Linked DNA regions of Homo sapiens: regions 1 and 2 are each linked to region 3. Evidence: promoter capture Hi-C in 16 types of primary human blood cells and fetal thymus (Javierre and others, 2016). All regions are on one chromosome and are shown on one strand. The core of a region is centred on a gene start or on the middle of the fragment in contact, and the rest is flanking DNA. Distances in the headings are between cores, read along the strand shown. Region 1 overlaps LRFN1 (leucine rich repeat and fibronectin type III domain containing 1). Region 2 overlaps SAMD4B (sterile alpha motif domain containing 4B). Region 3 holds the start of PAK4 (p21 (RAC1) activated kinase 4).

Evidence for each region. Contacts are between HindIII fragments. The CHiCAGO score rates a contact against its expected background, and 5 or more counts as called.
Region 1: a contact is called between a fragment that was not itself captured here and the fragment with the promoter of PAK4 in region 3, in 16 of 17 cell types (megakaryocytes, erythroblasts, endothelial precursors and 13 more). The highest score is 14.3, in megakaryocytes.
Region 2: a contact is called between a fragment that was not itself captured here and the fragment with the promoter of PAK4 in region 3, in 16 of 17 cell types (fetal thymus, naive CD4 T cells, total CD8 T cells and 13 more). The highest score is 10.9, in fetal thymus.

The regions. Positions count from the first base shown.
Region 1 is chr19:39,305,787-39,308,486 of GRCh38, forward strand. LRFN1 (leucine rich repeat and fibronectin type III domain containing 1) reads right to left here. Exons shown (of 5, transcript NM_020862.2): 5 at 780-2,700. The coding sequence ends at 1,847. Among named protein-coding and RNA genes, the nearest start is that of IFNL1, 11 kb to the left of the region's middle. RefSeq lists an enhancer at 2,041-2,542. The HindIII fragment of the contact is 8,108 bases long and covers 1-2,700 here.
Region 2 is chr19:39,347,470-39,350,169 of GRCh38, forward strand. The region is part of intron 1 of SAMD4B (sterile alpha motif domain containing 4B); the gene reads left to right. Among named protein-coding and RNA genes, the nearest start is that of SAMD4B, 6.4 kb to the left of the region's middle. The HindIII fragment of the contact is 3,053 bases long and covers 1-2,700 here.
Region 3 is chr19:39,124,506-39,127,205 of GRCh38, forward strand. PAK4 (p21 (RAC1) activated kinase 4) reads left to right here and starts at 1,281. Exons shown (of 10, transcript NM_005884.5): 1 at 1,281-1,414. The HindIII fragment of the contact is 5,933 bases long and covers 1-2,375 here.

The sequences.
Region 1 (2,700 bases), core at 45-2,544, 180 kb after region 3:
GAATATTCAATAACTGCTCAGCAGTACAGTGCTCTAGTTGAGTATTAAAGGAGTTCAGGGAATGTCACCCCAAAATATGGCACCCTGGTATGCTGATTATTTTAAATTAAAGGCACTTAGAGATCCATAGATGCTGGAAGAGGCTTTCCTCCTATGTCTTCTTATCTGCCTAAAGATCAAAAAGAACACAAGTGCCTTCTGTCCTCTCCCTGACATTTCATTATCTTTAACAGGAAAAAAAGACAGAGAAATGTCTACACCTGGACGGACTTTGTCACAAGAAATTATCTGTCTGTCAGTCTCAAATTCCAGAGACATTTACAAGCTAAATTCTATCTCCTGGACCCATTTATTTTCCCCAAAATCATTTATTACCCCTCAAAATTGCCTTCCTTTCCCCATCTCCCCTCCTGTGAAGAAAGGTATATAAGTATATAAACCTCACTGGGTTATTGGGTAATCACTTTCCTGTGATTTTCCTAGTGCATGTTAAATACCCTCCATATTCCTTTTCTCTTGTTAATCTATTGTCAGCCCATTCCAGTGAAATTTCAGAGAGTGAAGGGGAAGCTGTCTTTTCACCCCTATAGTAGAGACTCAGAAGTTGGCCTGCCTGCCTTTTTAAATCCCAGTTTTACCACCTTGGGCCAGTTATTTAACTTTTCTGGGCCAAAATTCCCTCATCTGGAAAACAGGATAATAATACCGATATGTCCTGGTGTTGTGAGAATTAAATGACTTAAGTGCTTGGCACATAGTAAGTAAGTATTCACTAAGCGTTAGCTATTATGATCATTTTATTTTTGTGATTATTCCCCACCTCTAAGTCTCTCAGAGGATAAAAGCCTGTCTGCCAGTCTCCTCCGGCCCCAGTTAGTCATCTTCCCATCTTCCTTCAGTCTCACTTAGAGTCCTTATGCTGCAATCTAGGTCACCCTCCCCCAACACACACACACACACACACACACACACACACACACACACACTACACGCGGACACACATACAGACACACACACAGGTCAGCAGGGCCTCAGACACAGAAAAAAGTTTAATTCTGCTGCGGCGGAGGGTCCCGGCTCCGGTAGGGAGGGGGATTTGGTTTTGGATTTTGTTCGTGTGGGGATTTATTTGGGAGAGTCTGGTCCTTCCAGTGGGACCTGCCCGGGAGAATGAGTAAAGAGAAGAAATCAGGAGAGACAGGGAGACTAGACAAAACCAGGGAGGGCCGAGGGACAAGAGACGACAGGACAGAGAGAAAGGAGAGGCAAATAGGGAAAGACAGGCACTACAGAGAGACGACAAGAGGGCGGGATAGAGACAAACGAGGGAAACAGAGAAAGGGGGACCCCAAGCCAGACCCGACCGGACCAGGAATGTGCGTGGGGTGGGGTGGGAGGCTTTGGAGGCCGCCGCGGGACAGAATAGGATCTAGTCCAGCCAGATACAAGAAATGGGCCCCTCGCCCCGGCCCCGGGTGACGGGCTGGGGGAGGGGGCTCGTGTCTCAGTGCTGCAGTGTCAGGGGGCCCTGCCCCTCCCCGCGCTTCGCTGTGTAAGGCACCGGCTCCAGCGAGGTCCGCGAGCGCGCGAGGGGAGGGGTAGGAGGGGGGTCGAGGAGTCCATAGGGGAAGGGAGGCCGGCAGCCGGTCCCCGAACCCCGCCCTGGGCACGGGGGCGTGGCCTCGAGCCGCAGCCCGAGGCTGCCCCGCCCCCTCCCGGGGACAAGGGCGCGTCTCCACTCTGGTCCAATGTCTTGGCGCTGCGCTTTCTCCCAGTCCCGCCCCAGCGTCCGTGCGGCTGGGCGTTTGGTCTGCGGCACCCAGGCGTCCCGGCGCCCGCCCGCCGCTCACACGGTACTCTCCAGCATCCACTCGGTGCTGGTGAAAGCCAGGCACGCCCTGGCGGAGCCCAGCCCCAGGTCTCCATCCTCCCCGGCCGCGCCCCCTCCAGCCCCGTCCAGGTGCGGCGTGGACCGGTGGCGCTTTGTCCGCCGGGCGCGGCGCGGGTAACTGTGGCTCTGGAATAGTGCCCCGTAGTCCCCGTCGAACGAATAGCGCTGCTGCGGCCTCGGCCGGGCCGCGGCTCCCCCAGGAACTAGAGCTAGAGTAGGGGGCGCCGAGGTTGGTGGCTCCAGGGCGCCGGATCGGCTCCTTCGAGGGCCCACCGCGGCCCGAGACTCCTCCCCGGAAGTTTCCTCGGATGGCAGCAGGCACAGCGAGGTGGCCGAGCCGCCCAGAGAACGTCCAAGGACCACCTCCGGCTCCGCGGATGCCGTCTCGGCCTCCATGGCCTTGGCCTCGACGGCGACGGCGGGGGCAGCCTGGGACTCCACCTCGCGCAGCGCCTCGTAGTGGTCCTGGGCCGGCAGGGCCGGGGCCTGTGCCGCGCCTGTGCCTGCGCCGTTGGTCTGCGAGCACACGTGGCTGACCCGCGGGAGCGACCTGGAGCCCTTGACGCGGCGGCTGTCCCCGTCGCCATACACCTTATAGCGGATCATGAGCAGAACGATGAAGACGAGGACCGAGGCGACGATGACGCCCCCGATGGCGATGATCATGGTGCCGCCCAAGAAATGGGCCCTCAGCGGGCGGCAGGGCGCCGGATCCCCAGCGGTGGTGAACTGTACACAGCCCACCACTCGCGTTGCCGGCAGCGCTGTGGCCCCGTCGTCGTAGACCGCCAGCACGCACAAGTCGTAGG
Region 2 (2,700 bases), core at 9-2,508, 220 kb after region 3:
CCCCACTGTCCCCCAGCCGCAGTCATTCTCTGCTCTGTGATTGTTTGGGTCTAGAGAGAGCTTGTGGCTGGTCTGACTCAACCACACTTTGCTTTGGGATATCACGGGTGATATGAGGTGATCAGCCTGGCTTGATGGTGGCCTCAGGGGAGCAGAATCCAGGAGTAATGGCAATACCCTCACCACAGTTTAAGGTTTCCAAGACACAGAACTTTGGAAGAGAGTTAAGTAGGATTGCTGTGAGTGGAGTTTTGTTTTGTTTGTTTTAGTGTAAACTTGTTGAATAGAAGCGGGTTCAGGGCAAGTTACAGAACAGCAGTGTATGGAGTATGCAAGTCTCAAATATCTCCAGCCTGCACTCATTCATTAATGCATGGAGGCACTATTCTAGGTACTGGAGACAGAGCAGTGAATAAAACATTCAAGGTCCTGAAATTCATGGAATTTATATTCTGATGGGGGGAGGAAACAAAAAAATCAGAGTGTGATTCATGCTGTGAAGGAAATAAAACAGTGTGAAAGAGAGGGTGGGAGTGGCCACTGTAGTAGACAGGGGGATCAGAAGAGGCCTCTTTTGGGAGGTGACAGTTGAGCCTGATAACCAGAAAGATGAGAAGGCACCAGTTGTGGGAAGATCTGGGAGTGGAACATTCTAATCTAAGCATTGTTACATGCAGAAAAAGGACCTCTGCAAGGTGGGGAAATTTATCACAGATATTTATTGAGGGCCTGCTATGTACCAGGTGCTATGCTAGGAATTGGAGATGTAGCAATGAATAATATAGCTACAGTCTTCCCTTCTCTCATGGATCTTACAGTCTAGGTGTTTTTGGAAGAGCTGCAGCCTTTGAAGAAACATCTCTTGATGATGATATCATAGACTCCTTCCTACTGGGCAGATGAGGCAGAATGGGGCACAGGTGAGCCCAGATCTGATTGATGAGAAGGAACCAACCTTGTGACGGTCCGGGGAAGAGCATTTCAGGCAGAGAGGTCAGCAGGTGCAAAAGCCCTGCCATATGTTCAGGGAATCGCAAGGACCAGTGTGGCTAAAGCCTAAGTGAGGGAGAGGGGTGAGGGTTGGAAAGGCTGACAGAAGCCAGATTACTTGCAGCCTAAGGGCCACAGTAAGGAGTTTCTATTTTCATTTAAGGGGATTGGGAAACTATTAGAAGGGAGTTTTTAAAAGCAAGACAGCGACATGATCTGATTAATTTTTTTAGAAAGCTCACTTTGGTTTCTGGGAGGAAAACAGAGGGTCAGGACAGAATCAGGAAGGAAAGTTAGGAGACAATCCATTTGTCCAGATGAGAAATGGTGACATGAATGTGGTGGTGGTGGTGGTAGTGAAGATGTAGAGAAGCAGATATATTTTGGGTGTACAGAAAACAGGACTTGATGATGGGATTAGAGAAAGAGAGGAATCTAGAATAATGATAATAGCCAAGTCATTTATGCCTCACAACTCTATGAGAGTAGGCACTATTATTATTTTCTGTCTTCCTTCTCAGTAGGTACTATTATTACACCCACATTACAGATGACAAAACAGGCATGGCAAGGTGAAATCACTTGCCCAAAATTACACAGGTAGTAAGTGGCAGGCTTATATTTCCAACCCGGCAGTCTGGTTCTAGAGCCACTTAGGTTTGGGGAAAGATAAGCAAGGCATGTGTAGCTGACATTAAGAAAAAAGAAATATCAAGACCTAATGACTGGGTCTTTGGGAAATGGAAGAAGTCAAAGATGACTCAAAAAAATGTCTCAGTTGTCCACAGAGAGGTGATGATTGAATCTACAGGAGTTAATTACATGCCTAAGTGAGAGAAAACAAGTGTAAAGAAGGGAAAGGAAGCAGAGAATAAACTTTTCGGGGGGAAGGGGTGTCAAGACATTTAGGAGTGGGAGGAAGAATGCTAGCTTCCTCTCTATTCCAGAGTTTACCGGAGCTCCCCATACTGTACTTATCTTCCAGGAGGCCCTGCCTGGCTTCTCCTCTCCTCTCCCTCCCTTCCCCAGCACCATTCATACAAAAAGCTCATTCTTTGCTAATGCAGTGGTGTACATGTTTTGTGTACGTATTTCAGGAGTTTCTGGAAATAATGGTTGATTCTTATAAGAGAAGTTGTGCTCCCTTGGCTTCTGACAGTCTCTTCTCAGGTTATGAAAGTGAGTTAACCCTAGGTAACTAGCCTGTTACCTTGTTCATGAAGTGTAAGTTCTCAAAGGCCTAGGTCGTGCTGTAAAAAGAACTAGGAATGGGTAAGAAGGCAGATAGGATCCCCTTATTCATCCAGAGATGTTGGTATTAAAGGGCCCTTAGGCCCAACTTTCACCTTGTTGCCCAGGCTGGTCTCAAACTCCTGGGCTCAAGCGATCTGCCCACCTCAGTCTCCCGAAGTGCTGGGATTACAGATGTGAGCCACCATGCCCAGCTTTCTTGCATTGTTAAGAGCAAGCAAGAGCTCTGAAGCCAGACTGCCTGGCCTTGAAAATCTCAGCTTGGTGTACAGTCTTGGGCAAAGTGACTTAACTTCTCTGTGCCTCAGTTGCTCCATCTGTAAAATGATAATATATTCATATATGTATGTTATATATTTTTGAAATAGAGTTTTGGGGATCAAATGTGCTTATCTGTGGAAAGCTGTTGGCAAAGGGCCTGACAATGTATGATGTATGAAGACATGCTAAGCATCATGC
Region 3 (2,700 bases), core at 31-2,530:
GGTGAGCGAGGGAATTAGTTCACAGAGAAAGTGACATCTGTGTAAAGCCCTGAAAAAAGGGAGGGAGAGATAAGGATACCTGGGGGAAGAGTATGTTCCAGGCAGAGGAACAACCAGTGCAAAGACTGTGAGGTGAGAGCGCACCTGACAAGAGTTCAGGAACAGCATGAAGGCTGGAGTCCAGTGAATAAGATCCAGGAGGAGAGATGTCTGGCCGGGCGCAGTGGCTCACGCCTGCAATCCCAGCACTTTGGGAGGCCGAGGCAGGAGTATAGTTTGAGCCCAGGAGTTCGAGACCAGCCTGGCCAACACAACAAAACTCTCTCTTTAAAAATAAAAGAAAAAGGCCAGCTTGGTGGCTCACACGTGTAATCCCAGCACTCTGGGAGGCCGAGGCGGATAGATCACCTGAGGTCAGGAGTTCGACCTGGCCAACATGGTGAAACGCTGTCTCTACTAAAAATACAAAAAATTAGCTGGGTGTGGTGGTGGACGCCTGTAATTCCAGCTACTCAGGAGGCTGAGGCAGGAGAATCTCTTGAACCCGGGAGGCGGAGGTTGCAGTGAGCTGAGATCGCGCCATTGCACTCCAGCCTGGGCAACAAGAGCGAAACTCTATCTCAAGACAAATAAATAAGTAAAAATAAAATTTAAAAAAATTTTTAAAGAAGATGTCTGCTGTTTGTTTTCAATATTTTGACCAATTACTTCGTAAAAACTTATTTAAAAATTGAAGAGCAAACAGTCTCAGGTTCCCGGGCTCAGACAGACCAGCGTTCAAAACTCATTACCTTCTTTCTATGATGCTAAGCCAGCTATTTCACCCTCTGAACCTCTGTTTCTTTATCTGTAAAATGGGTATTAATGATATTATACCACAGGGTTGTATATGCAGCGAGAAAATGCAAGTAAAACACTTATCCCGGTGCCTGCCTCCTAGTAAGTGCTTAAGAACTGTTTCTGCCCATTAACTCATTACTTTCTCCCAGCCCCTAACTCCTTCTGGGGGGGAAGTTAGAAAATCGGTATCACACGAAAACAGTCATTTCCCCTTTAAGGACCTCAGTGGGCCGGGAGCCAGCCTTCCCGCACCTTTTCCAAAATTTCCAATCCCCGCTTGGCATTTTCTGCCCGAAGGTCTCCGATTGGACGCTCTGTACCAATCGGAGGCTGGAGCGGGCCCTGAGAGGCGCCCGACTCCGCCCCCGCACTGGCCCTGCCCACTGCCCGGTCAGCCTCGTTGCTATGGGGACTGGTGGGCGGTGAGGGGGGAAAGCCCCGGATGTTCGTTGGGGATTCAACATGGCGGCGGGAGTGTCCGCGGTGGTGGCGGTGCAAGAGAGCTGAGGGAGGCGCGAGGGCGCGGAGTTCCAGGTCGAGCAGTTAGGCCGCGAGCGACTGCGGCGCCGAGCCGGTAGGATAAGGGGTCCGGCCAGGGGCTTGCGGTGGGCCGGGCGCTGGCGGCGGGACGGCGTTTCCGCGAGGAGGGGGGCGGGGCCGCCGGGGTCAAAGGTCACTGGTGGAGGGAAGGGTCGCGTCCGAGGGGTCGGGGGTTAACGCAGACTGGAGGGAGTTGTAGTGGAGGTCGGAGATCAAACCAGCGAAGGGGGCGTGGCGAAGGGGAGTGCAAAGTTTGAAATTCGAAGTGGGGGCGCGTTCGAGGGGTTCTGGGCGAGTCTCAAAAAAGGCAGGGTCAAAGTTAATAATTTGAGGGAAGGCTGCCCCCACGAGGGTCAGAGGTCACAGCCCCAGGGGCGCCAGGTTGGAGGTTTAAAGCTGCCCCTAGCGGAGCAGATGAATGAGTTTTAGGTTCGGGGGCGTCTTTTAGGGGTTCAAAGCTGGGGCGTGCCTAGAAGGTACAAAGGTGAGAATCTGACAGCGGGGCAGCTGTTTCCCAGAGTCAAAAATTAAAACCCAAGGAGGGCGTATTGCGGGGGACGGGGGGGGGGGGGGGGGCCGGGTCAGAGATGCTTCCTGGTGACAGGAGAAGGGGGAACCCTCCCACAAATAATAATGGCAAACACTCATGAAACACTATGGGCTAGACCCTCTTTTTAACGCTTTACTTGTATGAGCTTATTCAGTCCTCACTATAGTCTTAGGGGGTCTTAACCTGGTATTAAGAGGTTAAGTGATTTGCACAAGGTCACCCGATGCATAAGTTGTGCGCTGGGATTCTAACTCCGGAGTTCTGGCCCAGAGCCCTGCTCTGGCCGACCGCCTCTCAAATCATCATAATGTCGGTTAATGTTTAATGAGGGCTCACACTGTGCTCCACGCCCTGTGTGCCCGGTCGTATTTCACTCCTGCTGCAATCTTGTGAAGTGAGTGCTCAAGATGAACCTACTTTACAGACGGGAAAAATGAGGCTCAGAAGCTTCTGCTGAAGGCAGAGTTAGAATCGAAGCTGGGCCTGGGTGATTCCAGGGCTCCTGCCCCTGGTCGCCACATTGTCCGCTGCCAGCCATTAGGTCTCTCCTGGAAGCAGGGGGCTGGGCAGGGCTGGGCCACTCCCTGGGCGGATCGGATTGTCTGCTTGGTTTCCTTGGAAGGGTGTGATCTGGCAGGGAAGATTCCTGTGAGCCTATGGGAGTAGGGTGTTTGTAGGTGGTCTGGAGTCCGAGCAAGGGAGTCCGACGGGCTTCTGACTGGGGAGAGTGTCCCTGGGTGGTACCCTGGGCAGAGCGGGGTGTTCACTGT